Linked DNA regions of Homo sapiens: region 1 is linked to region 2. Evidence: promoter capture Hi-C in human tissues and cell types (Jung and others, 2019). All regions are on one chromosome and are shown on one strand. Each heading gives the region's core, a stretch centred on a gene start or on the middle of the fragment in contact. The rest is flanking DNA. Distances are from core to core; before and after follow the strand shown.

What was found. Contacts are between HindIII fragments. The study calls those that stand out against the background at their distance.
Region 1: a contact is called between a fragment that was not itself captured here and the fragment with the promoter of MYLK in region 2, in 1 of the 25 tissues and cell types used here (aorta).

What each region holds. Positions count from the first base shown.
Region 1 is chr3:124,279,617-124,285,338 of GRCh38, forward strand. All of the region lies in intron 5 of KALRN (kalirin RhoGEF kinase), which reads left to right. Among named protein-coding and RNA genes, the nearest start is that of MIR6083, 92 kb to the right of the region's middle. The HindIII fragment of the contact is 5,025 bases long and covers 431-5,455 here.
Region 2 is chr3:123,881,818-123,888,059 of GRCh38, forward strand. MYLK (myosin light chain kinase) reads right to left here and starts at 2,515. Exons shown (of 34, transcript NM_053025.4): 1 at 2,389-2,515. It also overlaps a transcript of CCDC14 not described here. RefSeq lists a silencer at 2,395-2,554. The HindIII fragment of the contact is 8,771 bases long and covers 1-6,031 here.

The DNA of each region.
Region 1 (5,722 bases), core at 1,693-4,192, 400 kb after region 2:
ACACAAGGTCAGCTGCTAGCAGGGAGAAAAGGAAATGGAAGCTGTAACCAGTCTGGCAGGATCTTAGAGAACACTTGCTGAAGATAAGCCAATCACTGTGCCGAGTACTGTGCCAGGGATGGGCAATTGGAAGATGAGCTACATTCAGGCCTGGCCATGTTGGAGCAGAGGGCACCAGCAAACAAATAGCCATTGCACAGGTAAGTTCACAACGGTGTCTATTAGTGCTATGGGAGCATAGATGGAGAAATGTTTAGCCAGGGTTTGGGATGCAGGGAGATGGAAGAGTGTGAGCAAAGGCACAGCAGCCTCAAAATGCAGGCTGGATCCTGGGAATGTCTGCAGTTGGGTGTGGCTGGAGCACAGGCTCTACAGAGAGGAGTGCAGGAGGTCTGTGTTCATGCCATGTGGGTTACCAGGAGTCAGAGCACAACAGAGAGTCAGAAGTCCATGGAATAACCAGTGGACCACGAGGAAAACTGGATTCTGGCAAATGGTTCAGGTCTTGCCAGGAGCATCTGAGAATCCTAAAGTCTTTGATTCAGGTCCAATCCCTTACCCATGGCAGAACTCCCTTCCAGATGTGCATTTTTCCAGATTCTTCTGAGCATTTCCAGGGCTGAGGAAGCCACAGCTTTGTGAGGCAGCCTGTTCCACTGTTCTGTAGCCCCAGTTGTTAGAAAGTCCTCCTTCCAGCAGGCCAGAATCTACCCTCCTGTAGTTACACCCTGCAGTCCCATCTCTGTCTCCCAGGGTCATTGGGGAACTACTCTCTTCCTTCCCCTGCAGGGCAGCTCTCCCATAACTTGGGGACAGTGCTTGGGGACCTTCCTCATGTTTTCTTCACCAGATAAAGTTCTGTGAGTTCTTTCAGCCTATTTTCGTTTGACGTGGGCTCTAAACTCTTTAATGCAGCTTTCCTGGGACCAGTTTTTCAAGTGGATGAGGGGTAATGGGAGGAGTCTGCAGCTTTTGGTCCCACTTGCACAGGTGAGAATGAGATTTTGTATGTGTAGGTGCACTAGTTTTTGTAGCCCAAGTTAGTTGATCTGAAACCCCAAGAGTTTGCCCACCCAGAGAATGATGTTCTCTCACTTGAATAGAGAGAGACACCATCTCATATATAAATACAGGAGGATGTCTTCTCACATGTGAGCACAGAGAGATTTTTCCAGTATGAAAATGTTGAGTTAAAGTGTTCTGGTGCCAAGGTCAGTAGTAGTTACTGTTTCTCAGGGAAAAGCCCAACTCAAGGGTATCTACTGTTCAACCCCATTCCTGTATCCCATGGCTCTTCCTGAGGTCATTCCCAAGGAGAGCAAAAGCCTCATACTCTTATCTTGTAAAGAGTCGGAAACCTGTGGTAAAACAACATGGCACATGTATACCTATGTATCAAACCTGCACATTGTGCACATGTACCCTAGAACTTAAAGTATAATAAAAAAAAGAAAAAAAACACGCAAAGGAATATTAATCTCTTGGAGGAAATCTGCCTCTAGCTGGAATCCCAGAAGGGTTCTTCCCCCAGTCCCCCATCCCATGGCCCCTTTGAAATCCCACTCTTGGTTTGTTCACCTCTAGTCTCTCCTTAGTAAGCTTTCTCTAGCATAAGAATGTCCTGCTATAGGAACAACTGCTGATGTGGTGAGAAGATATACTCTGTAACATATGCGTTCTGGTGGAGAGATAAAAGAGGGTTTGGTTTCCTCCATCCTCTTTAGAGATTGGGTTGACCAGCTTGTCCCAGATTTCCCTGGGGAGGTGACCTTGTCATGAGGTGGCAAGAGGGGGTACAAACATGAGGGCCCTAGAATGGAGAGTGAGACTGGACTTGGGCATTCAGCTCCCATCCCTCAGGGCATTCTCTTCTGTGCTTTGCACATTCCCACCTTTTCATGCCTTTGTTCATGCCAACACTCCTCCCATTTGGAATGCCTGCTCCACTATATGTGCCTATTAAAACCCTCCCCCAGCTGAAGGTCCAGCTCAGATGCTACTCTCTCTGTTCTGCCCTGTTGGAGGTGCTCTTTCTCCCTCTGAGCATTTCCTGCAGCCCTTATCCATCCCCCTCAAATTGTCCCTGTTCCATGCCATCTAGCATTATAGCTAGGTGCTCAAAGATCTCATTCCCCCAATTATATTGAAAATTTCTGGAGGTTAGGACCAGTGTCTTCAATTACTCTGTGTTGACCAGAGATACTTAGTGCCAAATAAATAGTTGACCGTGACACAGTCTGTACTCACTGGGCTGCTTGAGAATAGAACAAAACCTGTGAACACTGAGCTGACACAAGAGCACCACCTACTGCTGAATGGTTTCTAGGAACGCTACCTTAATGCACTCACTGTTGAAAACTGGGGTGTTAGCAAGTTTCACCTTGCAATGGAAAGAGTGATTTGGAGGCAAGAAACTGGTTCTGGTCCTTTTATACTAATCCAAGTGGGAACAGATGAGGTGGTAGTGAAAGTAGAAAGGGAAGGGACAAACCCTCGAGACACTCAAGGGAAGAAAATGAGACCAGTGACTGGCTGGATGTCAGGGGGCAAAGGCAGCACCAAGGCCTTCGTGTTAGGAGGATTGGCAGTGGGACACGAGTGGGAACAATTCCCGAAGACATTTTGGAAGAAGGATGGATAATTAAATGAAATTTTAATTTTAATTTGTTTTAAGGCACAGAAAAGTGAAAGAAGTGATTATGAAGGTTACTAAAAACATTATCATGTGTTAGCTGGTTGTTGCATTTCTGCCCTACATTTTTCTTTTTTTTTTTTTTTTGAGATGGAGTTTTGCTCTTGTTATCCAGGCTGAGTGCAATGGCACAATCTTGGCTCACCACAACCTCTGCCTCCTGGGTTCAAGTGATTCTCCTGCCTCAGCCTCCTGAGTAACTGGGATTACAGGCATGTGCCACCACACCTGGCTAATTTTGTATTTTTAGTAGAGATGGGGTTTCTCCATGTTGGTCAGGCTGGTCTTGAACTACCAACCTCAGGTGATCCACCCACCTTGGCCTCCCAAAGTGCTGGGATTACAGGCATGAGCCACCACGCCTGGCCTCTAACCTACTTTTAGGGACAATGGATGCTATCTAAACACAGGCATTTACCTTGGTCCTCTGGCAGCCTTGAGGAGTGATGGGGCTCTTCATTCAGTAAGTTCTTCCTAAGCCCTGCAGAGTATATCCTGTAGGGTCTGGAAGCTGGAAACACTGCCAAGCTTCTCCTTGTGGATGTGCCCAGCCTGGCTCCCTGCATGGCCCCTTACCTGTCTGAGCCCCATTGCAGAGGCTGCTGCTGGAAGAGGGGAGAAGGGGCAAAATGGGGTGCCTAGTCCTCCTCCTAAGCTCAAGGTCAGGCCCACCTAGCACATACCAGCATAGCTAGGTGGTGGTCTTCTCCCCAAGAGAAGGGCTCCCACAGGGAAGCCTGCCTCCTCCCAGAGAGGGGCTCCCAAAGAAAGAGCTGCCTCATCCTTAGCCTCATGTGGAGCTTTGTTCCCAGATGTGCAAGTGATTGGCACAGCCGATTTTAGGATGTGTGGGAGGACTAGATGAGAACATCCAACAGACACTCCATTTTTGCAGTAACAATAATAGTTACCATTTATTGAGTGTATCCCTTATGCCAGGAACAACCATTAGCTCATCTAAATTAACTTGCCAAGGGCCAGATCTCAGTTTATGTCTAAATTTAGCTCCGGGATAAAGTTGGGCATTATTTTCTCAGCCTGGATTAAATAGGATTTGACCTCTTCAAGTCTACATTTTGGGAAGTGAGTGAAGTACATTCCCTCACTGTGTTCCTGAAAATATTTTATCAGCATTTGTGGTTCAAATGGAAGGAATTTGGCCACTCAGAGTCAATATCCCGGGGCTGTCTGGGCTGACTCCTGGCTTGGTTAGTTCTGTTTCTCATCTGCTTGACTTGCTGGCTCCTGGATGACCATTCCTTCCCCACAGGAGGGTAATGAGTGTGTTGCCAGTGCTGCAGGGAATAAAGTGCATCCAGGCTCATAGGCTGGAAATAAAATGCAAAAACACCTTATTTAAAGTCTGAAAATATTTATATTAATGACTTGGTGAGATTTTTTATTACATCACTTAACTTGAGGAGGGCAAGTGCGAGGAGAGTGGCCTTTTAAGGCTTAGCATTGAGTGTGTGCTTCTCCAGACAGCTGCTGAACTGCAGCTCATCTGTCAAGAACAGTGTGTGATTTTAGCATGAAGTTTCGCAGTCTTAGTTTCTCTAATCAGACAGCAACTACTTGTTGTGACTGCCAGTTTATCTTGTCTGAACCCAGAGGAAGTGGAAAGAGACTAGCATACATTCTGGATCTGCTATGTATCATATGCTATACTCAGAACTTTTCATATATTATCATATTATGATCTTTATCTTCTTTGACCCAGACATTTGAATAGTTTGTGTGAAAAAGATGGGAGAGGGAACAAAATGGAGGAGAAAGCGGAGGCAGAGACCATCAGTTGGTGAGAAGTCTGCAATGTGCTAGTTGGTTTTTGTTCTATGAGATCAAGGCTGGCTTGGTCTCCCCTTTGCAATGAGATAAATGCCTGTATATCTGGGAGGGTCTCAGTCTAGACACTCACTTCGTAGTTAAAAGCAAATCTGAGCTATCACTCCCCTCCAGTGGTTCCCCAATGCATCTTTTGCCCTTTGTGATCTGGTATCTCCCTATCTCCTACTATGGCTTCTTACAATCCCTCATTTTATGCTGCTGCTTTAAACCTCCAGGCCTTTGCTTAAGCTATTTCCTCTGATTAAAATGCCCTTGCAAACTACACCTTCTTTGCCTGATGAAATCCTGTTGTCTTTCAAGTGCTGTCCAGGTGTTGCCACCCAGAAGCCATCCATGCTTTTCCCTAACCCTATCTCTGCCAAGTTGGACCAAGTGCTCCTCTACTGTCAGCCCACAGTATACGTCTCTTATAGTATTTTTCACATTTTATTAACATTAACAGAATATGGAATGTGTTTGTCCCCCTCACTAGACCGTGGCCTTGATCTTTTATCACCCGTGTCTAACCCAATGTCTGGAATACGAGTGCTCAATAAGTGAATGAACAATCACACTAAACATCATGAGGGTGTGACTCTTGGTATCAGAATGCTTTGGGCTTCAAGAAACAGAAGACAGTAAAATTTGCTTAAATATCAAGGAAATGTATTATTTCACATTTTAAGTAGTCATTCAGAGACAATGATGTGAGCTTCAAGATTGATGAATCAGTGCGAGCCCATCTTCAGGCACTCAGGATTCTTTCTATCTCACTCCTCTGCTGAGATCTCACTGTTTGGCCGAGAACTTCCTTGCAAGGCTGTTTCCCTTCATGGTTCTAAGACAGCTGCCAGTTGTAACAGAGCAACATGCTTCACTCTTCCCCAAGTGATAGGGGTAGCAGGAGAAGGAGGGAGAAACACAGACATTGACTTCTGTTTCCCAGAAGCTCTAAGCAAATCTCTCCTCAATTTCGTTGGTTCATACTCATTAAGACTTGCCCAATCCTGAACATGTAAATAAAAAGGGGAGTGAAATTAGTATGACTGGTTTGAACAAATGATCTGGGGTGAACTGGATGTTAGGGAATCAATGTTCAATATACTACTCTAGAAGGAGTAGTATATCCTTCTTATCCTTAGAGTCTATCATGTCCCATTTTCTCTCTCCTTTCCTCTGGAACTCTAAGTATGCCTGTGTTAA
Region 2 (6,242 bases), core at 1,265-3,764:
CTAGCCAGAGACCCAGAACCTTTCCCCACCCTTGGAACTCAAAGGCCTCTCCCCTCTGCACCATCTGGGTCACCTCCTTCTCTGACAAGCCTTCTCAGCAGATTACCCCCGCCACCTGCCAGCCAGGAGCCCCTCCTCTGCAGTGACTGTAGCTGTCTGTCTACCATTTTCAGGCAGCAGGTGGGGCCACCTGGCCTTACCAGTTAGCCTAGGAATGTTCCAAGGCCTAGTCTGCTCTGCATATGTTTTCTAAGATCTGGCCCCTGGGGAAGCAGCCCCTGATGAAGGGGTGAGCAAACCTCACACAAACAGCAACTACTCTGGCTGGGTGCAGTGGCTCATGCCTGTAACCCAGCACTTTGGGAGGCAGAGGTGGGCGATCACTTGAGCCCATTAGACTAGTATGGACAACATGGTAGGACCCCATCTCTACAAAAAATCCAAAAAACTAGCCAGGTGTGGTGGCACACACCTGTAGTCCCTGCTACTCAGGAGGCTGAGGTGGAGGATTCCTTGAGCCTGGTAGGTCAAGGTTGCAGTGAGCTGAGATCACGCCACTGTACTCCAGCCTGGGCAACAGAGCCAGACCCTGTCTCAAAATAAAAAATAAAAATAAAAATAAGACAAGGAAACATCTACAATGCTGCAGCTACCCTCCTCCTCAGCTAGCCAGTTATTACACAAAAGAAACTGAACATGGGAGATAAACCAGCATAAATGCTTCCCCACTGTGGGGTGGTTCTCCAAGCTCATGCTTAGCTGCAAATGAGGTCCAGCATCCTTTGTATCATCAGTGAACAATGAGACAGACCTGCACATCTTGGCAAAAAAAGCTCTTGTGCATGTCCCCAGAGTACCCGCTACCCAATCCAGCATCCAGAGTCCAACCACTCCGGACCCAGGACCAACTGCTCAGGTTCCTCCCAGACCCAAGGCTCCTGGCCCACTGAGAGTGGGAGAAAAAGGGGTAACCTCACTCTGGGCAGGAAGGAAAATTCCATGCTGCCCTAGAGCACTGTGGTGCCAGCAGCATCATCCTCCACAGTCCCACAGTGTGCAGGCGGGGAAGAGACTAAGAGAATCACGGAAGAGAGAAGGAGGTCAAGAATTTAAGAGAAAAGAAAACAGTTCTATTAGAACCCTAAATGCCTTGTAGGAACCTAGTAAAGTCACCAGATGCACCTACACTTCTCCCAGAGACTTGCATTGTTGATTCCTGATTCTTTGAAGTGTGGGCGGGGTTCCCCAAATGGTCCTCCTAAGCCCACCATCTGGAAATAATTTATTGATAAGTGCATTTTGACAAAAAGTATTCCATTCAGGTGGAGAAGAACACAGCCTCTCTTGGAAGGGGGATGCAGCTCCAGGGCAGGCTCTCAAAGGCTGTGGGGTGGGCGGGTCATTGCATATACTCTGGTCTTTGCACTTGGGGAGAGGAGGGATGGTAAAAACCAACGGCCTGAGGTCTGGCATCATGCCCACTGCCCAGGTGTTTCCCTACACCCACCCAGCTCCCTGAATCACAACAGCTAATTTTACTCCCTCTAGACTCTAGTAGAGCTGGGTCTTCTCCTTCTGGCTACGAAATAGAAAGTGCCCCGCACCCCAACACACACACCCCAATCTAAAAAAAATATATATCCTTGAAACCATTTCCCCATCAGCCCATCTTCACATCTGCAATGCCACTCCTAGAAATTCAGTCCTTTGGGTCTTGAAGGGTTTTAGTTCCATAAGTTCCAGGGAGGGGTCTACCTCAACCATTGACAACTCACATCTCCTGAGAAGTTTATCCAAAACTTTCCAACTGCAATCATCGGCGAACAAGGTCCCTCAACAATGGGACCCCAGTTAACGCGAAGGAGGCAGAGCGAGGTAAGGAGCTTAAATGAGGAGTATGGAGTAGGAACAAGTCTGCAAAGCCCGCGCCCCAGCTTCGCCTGGGATGGCCAGGTCTGGCACTCGCGGGCCGCCTTCCCCGCCCTACCTTCCCGGAATCACATTTGGGCTGGAAGGACCTTCACGTGGCACCCCCTTCCCAGAGGCCGTCACCGAGTCCTCTAGCGAGGGTCTGGGAGCTGGGAGAAGGGTCCGCTTCTCCTCCGCCCCTCAAATCAAAGGCACCCCCTTCGGATGATTCCTAGAAAGGCAATCGCATCAGTGTCCCCAAGCACTTCATCTCCCCAAAAGAAAACTCGTGCAGCCTGGCGTCACTGGGGTCGTCTCCTTACGCCCCTGACTCCTCGCCGCACCCCGGGGCCCCTCTCCATTAGGGGAGTCGGGAGGCACAGACGGTGGGGGTCCCAGCCCCCACCCAGAACTCCCACCCTCGGAGCCTTGACTTCCAGGGCCCGCGCCTGGACAAAAGCATGGGGCGGGCTCACTCACCCGCGCGGCGAAGGCGGCCCGGGAGCCGGGGCACCGGCGCTCGGCGGGGCGCCCCGGCCGCAGGCGCACAGCGCGGGCTCCGAGCTCGCTCAGCGCCCTGCTGCCGACCGGGCGGCGCGGGGAGCCCGCGAGGCGCGTCCGGGACTGGGCAGGGCGGGGCGGGGCGGGGCGGGGCGGGGGTGAGCGAACCGGCGAGAGAGAGAGCAAGTGGGAGAGCGGAGAGCGGACGCGCGCTGAGGAGAGCGAGTGAGAGCGCGGCGCTACGGGGTCAGGACTCAAACCACCCGCTCCAGCCCCCATGCACTGATTTGCATGACATTTGCATAGCGCTCGGGGAGTGGACCTGCTGCCCTTCCCGCCACGCCCACCCGCCTTCTGCCTCGGAGTCCGGAGCGGAGAATCCGCAGCCAAACCTAGCGCCAGACCCGGGCCCCCCTCGCACTTATCCTGCACCGCCCCAGTTAACTCCTCGCAGGCGGCGGTCAGCGGGCTGGTACTGTCTTGGTGCGTGTCTTAGTCCTACACTGGGAGACCTAGGCCTTAGGTCGGGGTCTGATGCTAGCTTCGTGAGCGTGCATGAGACACTGGCTGCCTCTGGGCCTCAGTTTTCTAATCTGTAAAATGAAGATGTCAGCGGAACCATGGGGCTAAAGTTTTAGTGCTGGAAGGTTGTCTATGTAGTTTTTTTCAGACATCCTCCAGTGGTGCAACTCAGCCCCATGGTTCCTCTGACATCCTCCCTTTGTGTGTGTTAAGAATCTCTCATTGGTTTGGAAGATACCTACAAAGTTCTTTAAATTAAAAAAGGGGAAAGGGGAGGGGGGGGAGGGGAGGGGGAGGAGGTGTTTCTGGTTTTGGCTTGCTTTATATTTAGTTTGCACCCAATATGAAATATTTTATAGCTTCTGATCTCTTCACTTGGACCTTCTTTTGTTTTTTTTAAAAAAACTGTTTACTGCAGGTTAAGGAGTGTTTTTAAAAATTTTTTAATTGTAAAATAAAACATAAATACAGAAAACCACAAAAAACAAATATATAGATATATAGACTAGTGAATTATTATAAAGGGAACATCCTTGTAATCACCACCTGGATCAAGAAATAGAACTCTGCCAGCCACCCCAGGAGCCTCTCCATGTGCCCTACCTCAATGACAACCCCCTTTCTCCCTCCTCCCAAAAGTAACCACTAACCTGACTTTCATGTAGTCACTTCTGCTGCTTTTGTTTTTCTTGGTATCTTCCAAGGGTGCACCTTACCCCTCCCCCCACTCTTTTTTTTTTTAATTTGATTTGCCTTTTCAGTCTTTTCCTTACAATTATTTGTTAAATAACTTAAGCCCTTGATCTGTGAGGTTTTCCAGAGTCTGGGGGTTGCACATTCATGAGGCAATTCAGCATGTTTCTCTGTCCTCTGTATTGACAGCAAGTTGGCAGCTGATCCAGGGTCTTCCTCAGACTGAAGTTTGATGTCTTTTGTAAGATTATAGATGGTTGTGTGTTCTTTTCTTCAAGAGGTACATGATCATGATGTCTGGTGTTTGCTCTTTTTTGAGGTTAACAGCCGTCGATGCTCAATTCCTAGATTCATTAATTAATTGAAGTTTGCAAAATCATGGTATTCTAATAATTTTGTTTTCATTTATTAGTTCATAAGTGGATAAGGAGATGCTTCCTCTCATCTACTATTTGATTACCCTGAGATAGGAAAGGCACGATGAATACCTGCTTTTTTTTAAAAAAATTACCCAGTTTTCAAGTTAAGGAATTGATTCTCTGTCATTCTTAGATTTCTTTAATATCATTATAAATTCATGAATTTAAATATATTTGATAGGTTTCCATCTACGATATTAGAGCTCAAATTGTCCCATCTTTGGCCAGTAGGAGCTTCTTCAATATGGCTCCTGGCTCCTTTTGATAAGATTCTAGTAGTCTTTTTTTTTTTCTCTCTCTCTCTCTCTCACTAGTGTGCAAAGAGCTTCAAAGACCCTAGAAGTCTTTGATAGCTTCCTTGCTATCTGATATGACAAGATGTTCCAGGCACATCTGTACATTTGCTGCCTCAAACCTGGAATCAGCCATTTCTCCAAGAAGCTCTAGTTTTTTTGTTTTTTCTTTCCTTCCTTCCTTCTCTCTCTCTTTTTCTTTCTTTTTTTCTTTCTTTCTTTCCTTCTTTCCTTCTTTCCTTCTTTCTTTCTTTCTTTTCTTTCAGATGGAGTCTCACTCTGTCACCAGGCTAGAGTGCAGTGGCACGATCTCGGCTCACTGCAACCTCCACATCCCTGGTTCAAGGGATTCTCCTGCCTCAGCCTCCTGAATAGGTGGGATTATAGGCACGTGCCACCACACCCAGCTAATTTTTGTATTTTTAGTAGAGACGGGGTTTCATCATGTTGGCCAGGATAGTCTCAATCTCTTGACCTCGTGATCTGCCCACCTCGGCCTCCCAAAGTGCTGGGATTACAGGCATGAGCCACCCCGCCTGGCCAGAAGCTCTAGTTTCTTTTGTTGAAATTTTAAGATAACAATATGAGCACTAGGAGTATTCATTGTTACTAGGTTGGTAACTGTTTCTAGGCCTTTTCAATAGACAGAGCTACTAAAGAATACTTCATTTTTTTATATTCTAGAGAAATATTATTCTTCATAATATTTTCATCAGTTTATATTATTTCCAATTTAATTTCAGGACTGTAGTTTTTACTTAACATATATTACATTAGGACCTCTTTTCTTTCATGTAGAGAATTCTGGTTCTCAAGGACAAAAGGGAGGATGAAATTAGAATATCCCAATTTACTAATTTGCTTTAGTTTGCATTAAACATATAATAATAATCTCAGAATAACAATATTAATACTACCATCATCAGTTTTGATTCTTGAAAACAGTTTTTTTTGCATATGCTATCCATCTTTTATAGTTATACTCTATCTAAATTATCAGCTTCTATAGCCATCTATACCATAATCTTCCTATTTAACCCTAATTTAGTCTTAATTTTACAGTTCTACAATTCTAATCCTAATTAAAGTTCAAATATATATTTAATGCTTACCATTAGTTCCTTATGTTTATGTATCTTTAGTCATTTTGGTTGTCTGAAAGCTTGTCCTCTACTAGATTCCTTAGGAAGGGCTCATGGAAAGAATATGCTCTGAGTTCTTGCATGTTGCTTACAGTTTGTTCATGCCATTTTACTTGAAGGTCAATTTTGTTGGATTCAAACTACTTGGTGTCTTGGTCCAGCTGGGTTGCTATAACAACAACAACAAAAAAAAAAAACACAAAATAAGTGGCTTATAAACAAGAAACATTATTTCTTATAGTTCTGGGGGCTGGGAAGTCCAAGATCAAGGCTCCAACAGATTCAGTATCTGTTGAGAGCCCTCTTTCTGGTTTGTAGACGGCACCTTCTCACTTTGCCTAGATGCCCAAATAACTTTATCTTTTTCTTTCAAATCCAGTAATTTTATTAGAATGTTTGTTGGTCATTCTAGTTTGAAAGTAAACAGTGTGTATTTCTTTCAAAATGTGGTTTCAAATACATATATTTTGTTAATTTCAGGAAAATTTTCTTCAATTAAAGTCTTAAATATTTGTTCTGTTTTGGATTGCTTTAGACTGCTTCTCTGGAGACTTCTATTATCTGCATATTGAACCTTTTTTGTCTATCTTCAACATTTGTCACTTTCCCTTAAATCTTTTTAATTTCTTTCTTCATTTGTTTTTAAGTTTATAAATTTCCCTCCTTTTTACCTTATTTTCTTTTAAGTTTTTATTAGTTATATTTATGTGTTCTTGTGTTCCTTATAGGTCAATCTTTATTTCTCAAATGCTTTTTAAAATGTT